6 separate regions of the Homo sapiens genome follow, and regions 1, 3, 4, 5 and 6 are each linked to region 2. Evidence: promoter capture Hi-C in human tissues and cell types (Jung and others, 2019). All regions are on one chromosome and are shown on one strand. The core of a region is centred on a gene start or on the middle of the fragment in contact, and the rest is flanking DNA. Distances in the headings are between cores, read along the strand shown. Region 1 holds the start of GNA15 (G protein subunit alpha 15). Region 2 holds the start of ZNF555 (zinc finger protein 555). Region 3 overlaps NCLN (nicalin). Region 4 holds the start of CELF5 (CUGBP Elav-like family member 5). Region 5 holds the start of LMNB2 (lamin B2). Region 6 holds the start of TIMM13 (translocase of inner mitochondrial membrane 13).

Region 1 (2,700 bases), core at 160-2,659, 290 kb after region 2:
GTTGGCCAGGCTGGTCTCAAACTCCTGACTTCAAGTGATCCTCCTGCCTCGGCCTCCCAAAGTACTTTGATTACAGATGTGAGCTCCCGCACTCACCTGGCCAAATTTTTTATTCTTTTATTTTTTATTTTTTTTGAGATGGAGTCTCACTTCGTCGCCAGGCTGGAGTGCAGTGGCACGATCTCAGCTCACTGCCACCTCTGCCTCCCGGGTTCAAGCGATTCTCTTGCCTCAGCCTCCCAAGTAGGTGGGACTACAGGCGTGCACCACCACGCCCGGCTAATTTTTGTATTTTTAGTAGAGACGGGGTTTCGCCGTGTTGGCCAGGCTGGTCTCGATTTCTTGACTTTGTGATCTGCCCGCCTTGGCCTCCCAAAGTATAGGGATTACATGCGTGAGCCACCAGGCCCAGCCTAAAATTTATTTTATTATCTGTTCTTTAACTAGAACCTTAGGTAAGGAGGTCTGGGATCTGTGTCTCTTGGCTACCGTGCCTGGCACACAGTTGGCGCTCCATGAATGCACGCACAATGAAGGGATGGCCCTGCCTGGAATCTGCCTGGTAGGCGTCTAGACTCTGGGGCCCCGCAGGTGAGGGATAGGCTCCCGGCTCTGCCTTGTGCCAGCCCCACCGGTCACTCCCCTGCTCTATGCCTCAACCTCCTCATCAGTCAAACAGGGATGACAGTAGTAACTATACAGGGTGATGTGAGTGTAAAACCAGCTAATGTGAGCCAAAACCCGGCTAATTTTTGTATCTTTAGTAGAGACAGGGTTTCGCCATGTTGGCCAGGCTGGTTTCGAACTCCTGACCTCAGGCAAGCTGCCCACCTCTGCAGGGTGGATCACCTGAGGTCAGGGCAGAGTCGCTGGAAACAGTCCATGACACCTGGCCTGAGCTGTTTCTTAAAAATATATCAGAAGGGCCGAGCGTGGTGGTTTATGCCTGCAATCCCAGCACTTTGGGAGGCCGAGGCGGGTGGATCACCTGAGGTCAGGAGTTTGAGACCAGCCTGGCCAACGTGGTGGAACCCTTTCTCTACTAAAAATCCAAAGTTAGCCCGGCGTGGTGGTGGATGCCTGTAATCCCAGCTACTCGAGAGGCTGAGGCAGGAGAATTGCTTGAACCTGGGAGGCAGATGTTGCAGAGTCAAGATCCTGCCACTGCACTCCAGCCTGGGCAATAAGAGTGAAACTCTGTCTCAAAAAAAAAAAAAAAAATATATATATATATATATATATATATATATATATATATATATATATATACACATATATATATATACACACACATATATATATGATATATATATAATGTATCAGCAGTAGCACGGGTCTGACGGTTCCTGATTGGCTCCGAGGAGGGGGACAGCTCCGGGTGAAGCCTGAGGAGAATCCGCCCCTTCTCCAGAAGGAGGAAGAAGGGCCCTGCTGGTCACACAGGACCCAGTCTGCGGTGGGGGTTTTCCCGCCACCGCCCCGCCCTCCCTGGGGCCCCCACCTCACCCTCTCCTGGCACCCTTCACCGTCAACCTGTCGGGCCGGGTCTGAGCAGGTCTGGAGGTGGGCGGGGAGCCCTGGCCTCCCCACCTCCTCCCGTCCCCACCCTGTTCCCAGCACTCAAGCCTTGCCACCGCCGAGCCGGGCTTCCTGGGTGTTTCAGGCAAGGAAGTCTAGGTCCCTGGGGGGTGACCCCCAAGGAAAAGGCAGCCTCCCTGCGCACCCGGTTGCCCGGAGCCCTCTCCAGGGCCGGCTGGGCTGGGGGTTGCCCTGGCCAGCAGGGGCCCGGGGGCGATGCCACCCGGTGCCGACTGAGGCCACCGCACCATGGCCCGCTCGCTGACCTGGCGCTGCTGCCCCTGGTGCCTGACGGAGGATGAGAAGGCCGCCGCCCGGGTGGACCAGGAGATCAACAGGATCCTCTTGGAGCAGAAGAAGCAGGACCGCGGGGAGCTGAAGCTGCTGCTTTTGGGTGAGTCCAGGGTCGGTGGGCGGTGGGTGGTGGGCAGTGGGCGGTGGCCAGCCGGCAGGGGTGTCGGGGCAAGGAGGCGGATCAGGCTAGGTCAGACATTGGCATCGTGGAGCCGTCGCCTCCTCCCAGGGAATGGGGAGCCTGGAACCCATTTTCCAGATGAGAAAGACTGAGGTTCAGAGAAGCCAAGTTCCTTGTCCAACGTGCGACCAGCGGCCAGGTGCCCAGGCCTGTCCACTGTGTGGGGCATATACAATAGCAGACGTGGCTCTACCGGGCCCCTGCCGGGCAGGCCCAGCACGCCCTACCTGTCTGTGTCATGGCGAGGGAATGATGAGCTCAGGTGTGCAACCCGTTCTGGCCAGCCCACCCGTAAGGGAGGGGCCGGCTCCAGCCTCTCCTTCACCAGGACGCTCCCTCTCGCCTTTACCTCCCTGCCATGGCTGGAGAGGGCTTGTCTAGGGCTCCTTTGGGGGCTAGAAAGGATGGATTGATTGGTTCATTGGTTCATTCATTCATTATTCATTCATTTAAGATTTATTGGGTAGCTCCCAGGAACGAGGCAGCCAAACAGGGGAAGATATTTCTGTCTTCCTGGATCTCATTTCCTGTGAAGGAGCCAAGACATTTAGTCTGTAAACTCATAAGCAGATAAAATAATTCTGGCAACAAGAATTATCTAGGAGAAAACAAAACAGGGTGATGGCTTCCATGCGGAGGCTTCAGAT
Region 2 (2,700 bases), core at 159-2,658:
ATTTTTTTGTATTTTTTAGTAGAGACGGGGTTTCACCGTGTTAGCCAGGATGGTCTCGATCTCCTGACCTCGTGATCCGCCCGCCTCGGCCTCCCAAAGTGCTGGGATTACAGGCGTGAGCCACCGTGCCCGGCCTCAAGCGATTCTCTTGCCTCAGCCTCCCTAGCTGGGATTACAGGTGCGCGCCACCACGCCCGGCTAATTTTGTATTTTTAGTAGAGACAGGGTTTTGCCATGTTGGGCAGGCTGGTCTTGAACTCCTGACCTCAGGTGATCCGCCCGCCTCGGCCTCCCAAAGTGCTGGGATTACAGGCGTGAGCCACAGCGCCCGGCCAGCTTTTCAATCTTCCAAATTTTGGGGGGATGTACTTAAAAAAATGATCTGAAAACATTTTCCTTAGAGTTTAAAATATGAACTTGAGAGTTTTTTTGTTTTTTAATATGGAGTCTCACTCTGTCGCCCAGGCTAGACTGCAGTGGGGCGATCTCGGGTCACTACAACCTCCACCTCTCGGGTTCAAGCAATTCTCCTGCCCCAGCATCCCCAGTAGCTGAGATTACAGGCGCCCGGCACCACGCCGGGCTGATTTCTGTATTTTTAGTAGAGAAAGGGTTTCACCATATTGGCCACGATGGTCTCAAACTCCTGAACTCAGATGATCCGTCCACCTCGGTCTCCCAAAGTGCTGGGATTACAGGCGTGAGCCACTGCGCCCAGCCAAATGTGAGGGTTTTAATGAACATCTCATATCTTCTGGTTGATTTGAGCAAAGCTCCTGCCCCCTGCCAGGCTTTGGGTTCGGCCTCCCCCAGACCGGGTCTCCGGATTCGCAGCCCCCTGGGCGGGGTCTCCATGTCGCCCGCAGCGCGATGACGTCACGTCTGCGGGTCCCGCCCCCACGTAGGTCTCGGCCCTTCGGACCCGGCGCCCAGCCCCCGTTCGCCCTGCCAGGCCCGGGCCGCCCGCTTGCATCCACCTCCTGTCCGGACAAGGGGTCGCCTCGTGAGGAAACTAGTCTGGAGTTCCCACGCCCGTCCCGGAGGAGGACGCGGGCGGGGCGCCCGAACTGCGGGGAGAGGGCGATTCCGCCCCGGGCTGAAACCAGTTCGCCCAGAAGCCAGTGTCCCCGCAGGGCGGGACAGCCACGCGTGTTCGCAACGCTCCCGTCACTCACCGGCAGGGGGTGGGCCCTAGGGAACTACCCAGTCAGGACGGGCGGGGGCGGGGCCGAGACAAGTATCCAATGAGGGACGCCCAATCGGAATCCGGGGAACTGCCCAATTTACAGCGCCAGGGGACGGACTGGGGAATTCTCCAATCAGAGTCGCCGACGTTGGCAGCACTGTCCAATCAGAAGCGCGGCTTCCCGAGCTCTGTCTAATCAGGCCCCTGGGACGGGACGCCTCTGTCCTAGCCGTGAGTGCCCCGCCTGCCCCTAGCGGTCCCTGGCGTCCCGGTTCCTGTCGCGCTCACCTGCGCCGGTAGCGAAGAAATCGCCCCGGGACATGGTGAGTGTGGCGCAGGAGAGGATCCCGGTGCGGGGCAGCAGGAACCGGCGACCGCCCGAGACCGCGGCTTGGGGGGAGCTGAGGGACGCGGGGGGCGGCCCCGGCGAGGGCGGCGCAGGACGGGAGCCTGGGCCCCGGGGGTCCCGCCCGGCCCCGCCTCCCGCGCTGAGGTCGCGGCTAGGGCGCTCCGAGCTCCGGGTCCCCGCCCGCCTCTGGCCCCAAGGCTGCAGAGCGGGGAGCGGCGCCCGGAGCCCGACTCCGTCCCCGTCGTCCCGGGGTCCCCGCGTCCCTGCGCTCCCGACCCCCCACGCCCCGCCCGGGGCCGCGACGCCTCGGAGCGTTTCGCTGCGGCTTCGGGACCCCCGGGCCGCGGGAGGCAGAGTCGCCCGAGACCCCGAGGTGCGGTCCAGGCTCCCCCGGGACCCGCCCTGGGGCCGACGCCGCGGTGCCTCCTGGGGTGCGGGTCCCTGGTCGGTGCCGCCTCCGCTCGCGCTCCCGCGGCTCAGCTCCTTGGAGGCCCCGCGCCTCCGGCCGCGGTCTCTGGGGGACCCTGGGTTCCTCCCGGGACAGCCCGGGAGCGGTGGGGCCTCGGCGGGGGCGGAGACGCCCCCACCTGCAAAGGCAGCCCCTGGGGCGTGCGAGGTTTCCTCCCCTGAGTCCCGGTTTTCCTTCTTGAGGACTTCTTGTCCCCTCTGACCCCAAGATGCCTGGGGTAGGTAAGGGGAAAAAAAACAAGGGTTCCTGGTCCCTGGGCTCTCACACACAAGGAAGAAAAGTAACTGAAAAGACTAGAGAAACAAGGGAGAGCGAGGACCCCAAAAGCAAACGCACGCAGACCCACAGCGGGGACGCCCGGGAGGCTGGTGCATTAGTGTCCTCGGACTGCTGTAGCAACTGACTGCAAACGAGGGGGCTAAAACCACGGAAATATATTCTTTCACGGTTCCCTAGAAAGTGTGGATTTGAAGACGTTTCTCAGTTCTGTTTTGAGTACTAGCAATGGGATTCCTTGCTGAGGCAACACCTGAGTTGGGGGTGGGAGGGCGTCCGTCGTGGTAGCCTGGCCAGACTTGACCCCTCCCTGGGTTTGTCACTGTGAAAAGATTTTCCTTTTTTCGAGTCAGCAGTTTTTAGGAAGTGAAACGTACATTTAATTAGTAGAAGTTGGAAGATAAAATATTTCCAGGCCGG
Region 3 (2,700 bases), core at 201-2,700, 360 kb after region 2:
CTGCGTCAGGGCCGGGCTGGGGTGTCCTGTCCCAGAGTGTCCCCTTGTCCCTCCTTACCCACTGCTCATTGCCCGCCGGGGCTCCAGCAGGCCTTAGGGGGACCCCGGGGGCAGGTGGATTTCTCCTCATTTTGCACCCTCGGGGGTTCTGGGAGGCCCCTGGAGCATTTGGGGAATGGGCTGGGGTGGCCGCCATCCCCGCCTGCCCTCTGCTAATGGCGCCTCCGGCTGCAGGTGGCCGCGCACCAGTTCCCTGAGGTACGGTTCTCCATGGTGCACAAGCGGATCAACCTGGCGGAGGACGTGCTGGCCTGGGAGCACGAGCGCTTCGCCATCCGCCGACTGCCCGCCTTCACGCTGTCCCACCTGGAGAGCCACCGTGACGGCCAGCGCAGCAGCATCATGGACGTGCGGTGAGCGCGGCAGCACCTGCCCGGCCCCTCCTAGGGCTTTCCTGGGGGCTGAGCCACTGGTCGCAACTGCAGAGGCCATGAGAGCCTGGAGGGAGCGGCCCCCACACACAGGCTGCGAGGAAGGGGCCGGTGCGTGGCCAAGGCCGGCTGCACGGTCAGGCCGTTCGCAAGCTCTTCCTTACTGGGGCTAGGGAGGGCGAGGCCAGCAGCCTGAGGTCGTGGCCCCATATAGGACCCCCAGACCCCGTCACCTGTTGAGTTAGGAGCAAGCAGCTCCTGCCTCTGGGCCTCTTCAGGGCCCTGCCACAGCCCGAAAGTCCTGCCTGGCCCCGGCCACCGTCTTGGGGAGCCTGGCCCGCCACCACACCCCGGCCCTTCCTCGCCCCGCCTCCCTCTGGGCACTGTGTCTCTGGCTTCTTATGTCCTCTGACCCTGTGTCCTGCCCGTCTCTCTGCCATCATGTGAGCCCCTGGGCAGGCTTTTGTGGAGCCTGGAACTGTCTGGCCACCCCAGGCACACTCCTGGCCAGTCCTGGCACCAGCAGGTGGGCGCCGTCTCCTCCCCCAGCGCCCGCAGTCCCGGCATAGATCCTTCCCGTTCATCCACTCTGCTCTGCGGTCACTGGGCCCTCAGGAGTGGTTTGAGCTCAGCCATCGGAGGCCTGCAGAAGCCAGTGGCGGGAGGGAGGGGCACATCCCTGGGTAATCGCAGTCCTGGAAAGGATGGAGGTGGCGGTCGCCCACCAGCCAGGAAAGATTGCCAGGAAATGAGGGTGGGTGCACGGCTGTCCCAGCTGTGCTGAGCTCTCTCAAGACCACCAGGGGTCAGCCCAGGAGGGCCACCTGGGATTTGCAGAGGGTCCCAGAATGGATTCTTCCACCAGGACGGAATAGTCCAGTTTAAATTCTGGAAGAGCAGAAAACCGAGTCAGAAGGAACCAAGGCCTCAGGGCGTGAGCCTTACCTGCGCACAGGGACGGGTCAGGGCAAGGGGCCTGGAGGTGTGGGGCCCCCAGTGAATCTGCATCTACATGTTAGCCAAGTAGTTAAAGCTAAGCTTAATTTTTTTTTTTTTTTAAAGACAGAGTCTCACGGTCTCCTAGGCTGGAGTGCTGGGATTACAAGTGTGAGAGCTACCTTGCCTGGCCCAAAGTCCACATTTTAAAACATTGTTTTTGAATCGTGAAGGTCCCGGGTGGATTCTAAGACCCTGACCCGTAACACGAGGATCATTGCAGAGGCCCTGACTCGAGTCATCTACAACCTGACAGAGAAGGTGAGCCCTGAGCCCTCTGTGCCGCCAGACCCAGCCCCAGCCCTGCCCCCGGCCCCGGCCCCACCCCTGGCCCCAGCCCCACTGCAGGGGCCTGGACTCAGGGCCATCCCCTCCTCTCTCCGCAGGGGACACCCCCAGACATGCCGGTGTTCACAGAGCAGATGGTAAGGGGGCCAGGCCAGTGGGTGGGTGGGTGGGCGGGGCCAGGCCATGACTACCACCACCGTCCCTACAGCAGATCCAGCAGGAGCAGCTGGACTCGGTGATGGACTGGCTCACCAACCAGCCGCGGGCCGCGCAGCTGGTGGACAAGGACAGCACCTTCCTCAGCACGCTGGAGCACCACCTGAGCCGCTACCTGAAGGACGTGAAGCAGCACCACGTCAAGGCTGACAAGCGGTGAGGCTGGGGCTCCGCGCTGGCCCCGTTCAGCCTGGGGCCGAGGGGGACCTCCCCCTACTGCATCTCCCACCCCCTCACCCCTGGGGGATGCCAGGTGGAGCAAATACAAAGAGAGGGTGGGATGAGGGCCGGACACGGCGGCTGTGCCTGCAATCCCAGTACTTTGGGAATCCGAGGCAGGTGGATCACTTGAGGTCAGGAGTTCAAGACCAGACTGGCCAACATAGTGAAACCTCATCCCTACTAAAAATACAAAAATTAGGCGGATGTGGCAGTGGGCACCTGTAATCCCAGCTACTTAGGAGGCCGGGACGGAAGAATCGCTTGAACCCAGGAGTTGGAGACCAACCTGGGCAACATAGCAAGACCCCATCTCTACAAACTTTTTAAAGTTTTTATTTATTTGTCTTTGAGATGGAGTCTTCCTCTGTCACCCAGGCTGGAGTGCAGTGGCGTGATCTTGTCTCACTACAGCCTCCATCTCCCGGCTTCAAGTGATTCTCGGACCTCGGTCTCCTGAGTAGCTGGGATTACAGGCACCCGCCACCATGCCCGGCTAATTTTTTTTAATTTTTAGTAGAGATGGGGTTTCACCGTGTTGGCCAGGTTG
Region 4 (2,707 bases), core at 78-2,577, 380 kb after region 2:
TCCCGGGTTCAAGCGATTTTCCTGCCTCAGCCTCCTGAGTAGCTGGGATTACAGGCATGCACAACCATGCCTGGCTAATTTTTGTGTTTTTAGTAGAGACAGAGTTTTCTCCATGTTGATCAGGCTGGTCTCGAACTCCTGATCTCAGGTGATCCACCTGCCTCAGCCTCCCAAAGTGCTGGGATTACAGGTGTGAGCCATCGTGCCTGGCCTGTTTTCTTATTTTTTACAGCAATGGCGTCTCACTATGTTGCTCAGGCTGGTCTCCAACTCCTGGGCTCAAGTGGTCCTCCTGACTCTGCTTCTCAAAGTGCTGGGATTACAGGTGTGAGCCACCACGGCCAGCACGTATTATTATTTTTATTAATATTATTGATGAGTTTCATACGTAAAGGATCACGGGCACTTTAGAGCTGGGAGATACTTCAGTATTTCTCCTATCCTGTCATTATCAGTGCGAGCCAGTCTCCCTCCTTGTTGATGACATTATTGATGAGTTACATACTTAAAGGGCCAAGGACACTTTCTATGTGTAAGCACCCTATAGAACTGGAAGATACTTTTACCATTTCTCCTGTGCTGTCGTGATTAGTGGGAGCACTTTGTCTTGCTCTTGATTAATTATTATTAGTGTTGTTATTATTAGGTGTTTTTTTTTTTTTTTTTTACCAAGACGGAGTTTTGCTCTTGTTGCCCAGGCTGGAGTACAATGGCACAATCTTGGCTCACTGCAACCTCCGCCTCCTGGGTTCAAGTGATTATCCTGCCTCAGCCTCCCGAGTAGCTGGGATTACAGGCACCCCCCGCCACCGAGCCCAGCTAATTTTTGTATTCTTTAGTAGAGACGGGGTTTCACCGTGTTAGCCAGTCTGGTCTCGAACTCCTGACCTCAAGTGATCCACCCACCTCGGCCTCCCAAAGTGCTGAGATGACAGGCGTGAGCCACCGCGCCCAGCCATATTATTAGTGTTATTAATATTATTGATGAGTTACCTACTTTAAGGATCACGGGCGCTTTCAACGACAAGCCCCCTACATTATCCCAGCAACTTTTGACATTCTTCCGGCCGATGCCCTCCGCGGGAGCCGGCGGGGACCCCTGGGAAGCCGGCTAAGGCCCGTCCCGCCCGCAGCTCCGCCCTCGCCCACCCGTAGGCGGGGCCCGGGGCCTTCCGGCCTCAGTTTCCCCCCGCGGCCCGGGGATGCGGGGAGGCGCCGGCTGCCCCGCGCGGCGCGGCCGCCAGGGGCCGCTGCGGAGCCGCCTTTGTGGTCCCGATGCCGGGGCGGGCGCGGGCGGGAGGAGGGCGCGGGGGCCCGGGAGGGAGGCGGGAGGCGCGGCCGCCGCTCCAGCTGCGAGTCCGCCCGCCGCCCGCCGCCGCCGCCGCCGGCTCGGTCCCGCGCCCGCCATGGCCCGCCTGACGGAGAGCGAGGCGCGCCGGCAGCAGCAGCAGCTCCTGCAGCCGCGGCCCTCGCCCGTGGGCAGCAGCGGGCCCGAGCCCCCCGGGGGGCAGCCCGACGGCATGAAGGACCTGGACGCCATCAAACTCTTCGTGGGCCAGATCCCGCGGCACCTGGACGAGAAGGACCTCAAGCCGCTCTTCGAGCAGTTCGGCCGCATCTACGAGCTCACGGTGCTCAAAGACCCCTACACGGGGATGCACAAAGGTGGGCGCCCGGCCCCCTCCCCCCTCTCCCCCTCCCTCCGCCTCCCACCCCACCTTCCGGCATCTTCTCTCCCCCATCACCATCCCTCCTCTGCTCACCTCCCTCCTCTGCCTGCCTCTGCCGGAGCATCGGTTCTTACCCCCTCCCTCCCACCCACCCCTCCTCCCCTCTCTGGGGGTGCAGCTGACAGATCCGAGCGGGCCCCCTCCCCTCCTCCGCCCCCTCTCCCTCCCTCCCCACCTTCCGGCATCTCCTCTCTCTCTCCCTCTCTCTCTCCCTCTCTCTCTCCCTTTCTCTTCTCTCCCATCTCCCTCGACCTCTCATCCTTCCCCCCACAGCACCCTCTCTCTCCCTCCCTCCCTCCCTCACCCTTCCATCCCCCAGACCCCCACCCCTTCCTCCCTCCCTCACCCCACTCTTTCCTGCCCGTTTGCCAGGGGAGCCTCGGGAACGCCGGCACCCCTCCCTGCCCCCCCACCCCCATTCATTCAGCCTCCCCAGGCCCCGTCGGGGAAGTTTGCACCTGCGGACTCCATTGCTTTGGTTATTTTCACAAAGCCAGGCCGGCGGGGCAGGTCCGGCCGCGGGGGACACGGATGCCCAGGACCCCAGGCTAATCGGTAACTACAAAGGAAGACGGGTTGGGGGCGCCCGGCTCGGGGGGACGCGCCCGCCTCGCCTGCCTCGGGTGGCGGAGAGGCTCCCGTCGCTGCCCACCCCCTGGCCCCACCACCTCCGCGTGGATCAGCATTCTCTCCTCCATTTCTCTGCCCTCCCCCTCCCCCGCCTCCACCTTGGGCTCAAGTTGAAACTGGCCGAGCCTCTTAGCAATGTGTTGGGGTCTCAGGCCCAAGACAATGAGCTTGGACGTGTCCATCTGGGCAGAGCCCAAATTCTGGGGTGGACAGGGAGGAGGAGGGAGGCGTGGGCGGCCTCAGGCCTGTCTGCCTCCCTCCCACTGGATTCTCCCTCCGATGGCATCCCGGGTGGGGGTGTCCGGCAATTGTATCCCCAGCCCTTGGTTCCCATCATGGGCCCAGCG
Region 5 (2,700 bases), core at 75-2,574, 380 kb before region 2:
ACCCCCTCCATAGGTGGGGCATTCCTGGTCTGCACTTTTCACTCAGTGCCCTAGAAACCCCCTGGAGGTCCCCAAGAGAATGGGCCACTCCGGTCTGCACCCCTCCCAAGGGGTCCCCCAAGATCTCGGAAACTGCGGTGGGCAGGGCCTGCCCAGGTGGCACCCCTCACTCAGGGTCTCCCCCTGGAGATCCCCGAGGCCAGGCTGACCCCACCCCTGCTCAGGGTCCCCCGTGATCGCGTACTCCGCGGTGGGCTGGGCCTGGCCGAGCTGCACCCCTCACTCAGGGACCCCTTGAAACCCCCTGGAGACCCCCAAGCCGGGACCCTTCCCGGTCTGCACCCCTGCCCAGGGTCCCCGCGATCGCGCACCCCGCGGTGGCCAGGACCTGCACCCTTCATCCAGGAGCCCCCCGCAAACCCCCTGGAGACCCCAAGCCGGGAGTCGTTCAGAGTCCCCCGCGATCGCGCGCCCCGTGGTGGGCGGGGCCTGGCCGAGTAGCACCTTTCACTCAGGGACTCTCCGAAACGCGGCGGAGATCCCCGAGGCCGGACTGTCCCCGTCTGCATCCCAGCTCAGGGTTCCCCGCGACTGGGAGCCCCGCAGTGGGCTGGGCCTAGCCGAGCAGCACCCCTCACTCAGAAGCCCCCAAACCTCCTGGAGACCCCCGAGCCGGAGCCTGTCCCCGTCTGCACCCCCGCCCAGGGTCCCCGCGATCACGCACCCCGCGGTGGGCGGGGCCTGGCCGAACTGCACCGCTCACTCAGGGGCCCCTCGAAACCCCCTGGAGACCCTCGAGACCCGGGCCCGTCCCTGTCTGCACCCAGGGTCCCAGCGATTGCCCACCCCGCGGTGGGAGGGACCTGGCCGAGCTGCACCCCTCACTCAGGGGCCCCCCGAAACCCCGCGGAAACCCCCGAAGCCGGGGCCCGTCCCCGTCTGCACCCCCGCCCAGGGTCCCCGCGATCGCGCGCCCCGCGGTGGGCGGGGCCTGCCGGCTGCACCCCCGCCCGGCCCCTAAGCCCCGGCGCCCACCTCGCGCGTGGTCACCTCCTCCTTCTCTGAGATCTTGAGCAGGAGCCGGTCGTTCTCCAGCTCCAGCGCGCGGACGCGGTCGATGTAGTGCGCCAGGCGGTCGTTGAGCTCGCGCAGCTCCTCCTTCTCCTGCAGCCGCGACAGGCGCGTGGGCGACAGCGGCGTGGCGGGCCCGCCCGCGCGGCCGGGCAGCGGCGTGGCCATGGTGGCGGCGGCTCGCGGCCTGCGCTGCTCCCGACGGCGGCCCGGGCTCGGCGGGCTCATTCAATCCGCGCCGCCGGCTGCAAGATGGCGCCGCGCCGCGCCGCGCCCGCCGCCCGCCGCGGCGGGGCAGCCTGGGACTGGTAGTCCGACCGCCGGGCGCGCGCGGGGCACGCCGGAAGTTGAAGTCTCCGTCCAGCTCTCGCTTCGCAGAGGCGCTGACTCCAGAGACAGACTTCCTGGCTGCAAACTCCCAGCTCCGCCACGAGGAAACAGCGTTGGGTTGCTTTCTAGTACCTGTTTCCCCACTTAGAGAACCTCAAAACGTGTTCAAAGAACCAGACACAAAAGGCCATATAGGGCCGGGCGTGGTGGCTCACGCCTGTAATCCCAGCACTTTGGGAGGCCAAGGCCGGTGGATCACTTGAGAAAAGAATTTCGAGATCAGCCTGGACCACATAGGGAGACCCCCCCACACCATCTCTACTACGGAGGCGCGCGCCGGTAATCCCAGCTACTTGGGAGGCTGAGGCAGGAGAATCTCTTGAACTTGGGACGTGGAGGTTGCAGTAAGCCAAGATCGCGGCACTGCACTCCAGCCTGGGCAACAATGAGAAACTTTGTCTCAAAAAAAAAAAAAAAAAAAAAAAAAAGCCATATAGTGTACAATGCCACTGATATAAAATGTCCAGAAGAGGCTGTCAAGGAGTATGAATTTCAACAAATTGAGTTTAATGATCTCATTGGCTCTTATTAGCAATTCATGAATTGGATAGCATTCAATCTATTAAATAGGCACTCCAATGAGCTGAGCAGAGAGGATGGGCATTCTGCATTACAGGCAGAAAAGGCTGAAGAAAGGAGAAATAAGAATTAAAATAAAAGCCAGGCCAGGTACAGTGGTTTGCTCACGCCTGTAATGCCAGCACTTTGGGAGGCGGAGGTGGGAGGATAGCCTGAGCCCAGGAGTTTGAGACTGGCCTGGGCAACATAGCAAGACCCCATTTCTAAAAATAAAAATAAAAAAATTAGCCAGGTGCAGTGGCTCACACCTGTATTCCCAGCACTTTAGGAGGCCAAGCCGGGCAGATCATGAGGTCAGGAGTTCGAGACCAGCCTGACCAATATGGTGAAATCCCGTCTCTACTAAAAATACAAAAATTAGCCAGGCATGGTGGCACATGCCTGTAGTCTCAGCTACTCGGGAAGCTGAGGCAGGAGAATTGCTTTAACCCGGGAGGCGGAGGTTGCAGGGAGCCAAGATTGAACCACTGCACTCCAGCCTAGGCAACAGAGTAAGACTCCACCTCAAAAAAAAAAAAAAAAAAAAATTAGCTGGGCGCCTATAGTCCTAGGTATTTGGGAGGCTAAGGTGGCAGGATTGTTTGAGCAAGAGAGGTCAAGGTTGCAGTGAGCCCTGATCACATCACTGCATTCCAGCCTGGGTGACAGAGTGAGAGTTTG
Region 6 (2,700 bases), core at 1-2,500, 410 kb before region 2:
GAAGCAGGGTCAAAGCAAGCCCTGACAAGGGGAAGGCTGTCCCCCTTAGCCTTTGGGGCAGGGGTGGCAGCAGCAACACATTCCTCGTGACTCAGCAGCCCGGTGGCACTAAGGGGAAAGATGGACTTCTCCCAACCCAGGGGAGGCTGAGACCCTCCGAGCTGGGGTTCCAGGGACACGCGTCACCTCTTCCCAGAGACCCCTCAGGAGGGAAATAAAGAGGTTTCTCTCCGTCCTCCACCAATTTATTTGCCCATCCGCAGGAGGTGACAGCTCCTGTGGTGTCTGACCACCCCCAACTCCGAAGTCCAGACAAGCTGTCCGCCCAGAATATGAGGCTGACTTGGGCACACTAGGGGAATACCCCAAAGGCCTGAAGGAGGTGCCACTGGGCTGCCAGCACTTCAGGAAGGCACAGGGCCCCACACCCCCGAGATCCAAGCTGCACTGGCTGGCAGGGGGCAGGGCGGGGGGTGGCGAGGACACAGTCCCGTGTGTCCCAGCACCGGTGCCACCCTCCTAAGCCCCGGGCAGGCAGTACGTACATGCGGACCCCGCCTCTCAAAGCACGTTTATGGAAATGAACAGGGTGGGGTGGCCCGCGCTCGCCGGTCACATGTTGGCTCGTTCCCGCTGCAGCCGCGAGTTGTAGGCGCGAGACACGGTGTTCCAGGCGTCCATGTAGCGGTCCATGCACATGGCGATGCACTTCTGCGGGAGCGGAGGGGCGCACGGCTCAGCTCGGGACTTCGCGGCCCCGGGGACCGCCCTGACCCCGGCTCCAGGACGCCCGGGCTGCAGACTACGCACGTGCAGTGACCACTCCGTCGCACCTCCCCGTTAGTCTGCGCACGCGCAGACACCTCCCCCCTCGAATCTAGGCCCTCGCGACCCTTGCCCCGAACCTCCGCGGGTCTCACCTGCTCGGAGTTGTCCAGGGAGCCCCCAGGTTTCCCTATACACTTCCGGAAACACTTGTCCGTCATCCTCTGTGGAGACACGCGAGGCTTTAGCCGCGACGTCGGCCCCCAGGGGTGGCCCTGTCGCCCCCAGCGCCCGTCCCCGGCCAGCCCCGCACCTGCAGCAGCTCCTGCGCGTTGGCCACGGCGATCTGCACTTTCACCTGCTCCATTATGAGCCCTGGGTCCAGCTTCCCGCTGCCGGAGCCCCCGAAATCGGAGCCGAAGCCGCCCTCCATGGCTCCGCAAAGTCAACCGGACCGAGGCCGCGTGCGCCGACTCGTAACTAACTGCGCCGGAAGCGGGCCGCCCGGGGCACCACGGGAAACGGAGTCCGCGCGGACGGGGACGGAGGACTACAACTCCCACACGACCGCGCGCGCCCGGGCCATTCAAGGTCGCGCGGGGGGCCCTCCGCTCATGCGGAGGCCTGGACCTGCCGTTACCTACACGAGCTACCCGTGGTTGCGACTCCGCGGGAAGAGGGAGGCCCTGACTTGGCCGGGGAGTAGGGGGGCTACTACGTGCGGCCGAGGCCGATCACTTTGTACTCACGCTCTGCCTCCAGCTCGTCCCGAAGGGCCTGCCGCGCATGCGCACGAGGCACCCGGCGCGTCTATACAGCGTGTTGCCGCCGGGGCGGAGCCCGGTCGCATCACGTGACGAAGAGTCAGCTTGTGCAACAGCGTCGGAGGCTCACTAGAAAAAAAAGGGCAGGGTCCCATGCATCGCCTGGGTCCTGTTTACACTAGCTACACTAGCCAGTGACCTTTTTCCTTGGGGGTGGAGGGATCTTTCTTAGACATCCGCTTCATTAGGGCAGAGGCCCCGGCTCGAGCTTCCCCTCAGGAATAAACTCAGAGGCAGAACCTAAAATCAAAATGTTTATTGGAGTGTTGTACAAAAAAGTTTCCAGTCATAAAATGTATATTACAAATCATTGGAAAAAAAAAAGAACACATTAGGCATGCATCTTCTTAAAAACCGAATCTCTGAAATGAAAGTCCATGCCAGCCCCAGCTGCAGCCCAGCTCCGTTTTTGCAGGTTGTGCTGTGACGCTCGCTGGACGCAGGGCTTGGAAGAGGCTGCAGGCGGCGACGCCCCAGGACTGAGGAGTCCCTCAGATCTTTAACAAAGAACTGCCGCGTGCAGGCTTCAGACCAACCCCAGCCAAAGCCGCTGGCATGAGGACAGGTGCATGATCGGATTCTGGGTCAGCCCGCAGGCCTCCCGGCTCCTGGGCTCAGCGGGGCAGGCTTCAGCGTTAACCTGGCGCTGTGCACCCCAGAACCCGCGTTGGTCCAGCAGGCGTGGGCCTCCCCCCAGGGCTGGGTGGCGTCTGATGCTTCGCAGGGAGGGCGCTAGGCTTCGAGTCACACGGCACGGGCTTACACAGAGGGATGGTTTCGCATCGTTCTAAGCGGCACACAGCTAAGCGTATTTGGGGACAAATGCAAATTGTTTCCCAGGCCATAAATAACTTTTAAAAATTTGATTTTCTTAGTGTTTCCAAAGACTCAATTCTCAATGAACCTCCAATTACCCACAGGCTGCCCAGTCCACGCTTCTCCCCACCCCCTTCAGCTAAGGGCACCCGCAGTCCTAGGACCACCCCCAGCTCCACCCAAGGCAAATGTAGGGTGGGGGGTTCTGTGGGCCTGGGGCGTGCTGTTTTCAGGACAGGACTGGGCAGCGTCTGGACATGAGGACCTGCGGGTTTTGGGGGGGACTTTGTCCCTG

Evidence for each region. Contacts are between HindIII fragments. The study calls those that stand out against the background at their distance.
Region 1: a contact is called between the fragment with the promoter of GNA15 here and the fragment with the promoter of ZNF555 in region 2, in 2 of the 25 tissues and cell types used here (aorta and pancreas).
Region 3: a contact is called between a fragment that was not itself captured here and the fragment with the promoter of ZNF555 in region 2, in 2 of the 25 tissues and cell types used here (H1 embryonic stem cells and bladder).
Region 4: a contact is called between the fragment with the promoter of CELF5 here and the fragment with the promoter of ZNF555 in region 2, in 5 of the 25 tissues and cell types used here (adrenal gland, dorsolateral prefrontal cortex, mesenchymal stem cells and 2 more).
Region 5: a contact is called between the fragment with the promoter of LMNB2 here and the fragment with the promoter of ZNF555 in region 2, in 2 of the 25 tissues and cell types used here (dorsolateral prefrontal cortex and liver).
Region 6: the fragment with the promoter of TIMM13 here is called in contact with the fragment with the promoter of ZNF555 in region 2 in 1 of the 25 tissues and cell types used here (liver).

The regions. Positions count from the first base shown.
Region 1 is chr19:3,134,624-3,137,323 of GRCh38, forward strand. GNA15 (G protein subunit alpha 15) reads left to right here and starts at 1,410. Exons shown (of 7, transcript NM_002068.4): 1 at 1,410-1,972. The coding sequence starts at 1,828. The HindIII fragment of the contact is 27,733 bases long and covers 1-2,700 here.
Region 2 is chr19:2,840,067-2,842,766 of GRCh38, forward strand. ZNF555 (zinc finger protein 555) reads left to right here and starts at 1,409. Exons shown (of 4, transcript NM_152791.5): 1 at 1,409-1,509. The coding sequence starts at 1,507. RefSeq lists silencers at 870-979, 990-1,179, 1,400-1,699, 1,740-1,789. The HindIII fragment of the contact is 15,507 bases long and covers 1-2,700 here.
Region 3 is chr19:3,204,339-3,207,038 of GRCh38, forward strand. It overlaps NCLN (nicalin), which reads left to right. Exons shown (of 15, transcript NM_020170.4): 9 at 235-413; 10 at 1,601-1,688; 11 at 1,814-1,852; 12 at 1,924-2,087. Among named protein-coding and RNA genes, the nearest start is that of CELF5, 19 kb to the right of the region's middle. The HindIII fragment of the contact is 5,490 bases long and covers 1-2,700 here.
Region 4 is chr19:3,223,334-3,226,040 of GRCh38, forward strand. CELF5 (CUGBP Elav-like family member 5) reads left to right here and starts at 1,328. Exons shown (of 13, transcript NM_021938.4): 1 at 1,328-1,665. The coding sequence starts at 1,407. RefSeq lists a silencer at 1,149-1,268. The HindIII fragment of the contact is 19,492 bases long and covers 1-2,707 here.
Region 5 is chr19:2,455,635-2,458,334 of GRCh38, forward strand. It overlaps LMNB2 (lamin B2), which reads right to left and starts at 1,325. Exons shown (of 12, transcript NM_032737.4): 1 at 1,036-1,325. The coding sequence starts at 1,299. RefSeq lists an enhancer at 1-53 and silencers at 314-493, 724-813, 874-1,123, 1,244-1,423. The HindIII fragment of the contact is 70,551 bases long and covers 1-2,700 here.
Region 6 is chr19:2,426,336-2,429,035 of GRCh38, forward strand. TIMM13 (translocase of inner mitochondrial membrane 13) reads right to left here and starts at 1,251. Exons shown (of 3, transcript NM_012458.4): 1 at 1,079-1,251; 2 at 921-989; 3 at 1-711. The coding sequence starts at 1,198. The coding sequence ends at 613. LMNB2 (lamin B2) reads right to left here. Exons shown (of 12, transcript NM_032737.4): 12 at 1,831-2,700. RefSeq lists enhancers at 1-741, 742-1,487, 1,572-1,721 and a silencer at 932-1,021. The HindIII fragment of the contact is 21,330 bases long and covers 1-2,700 here.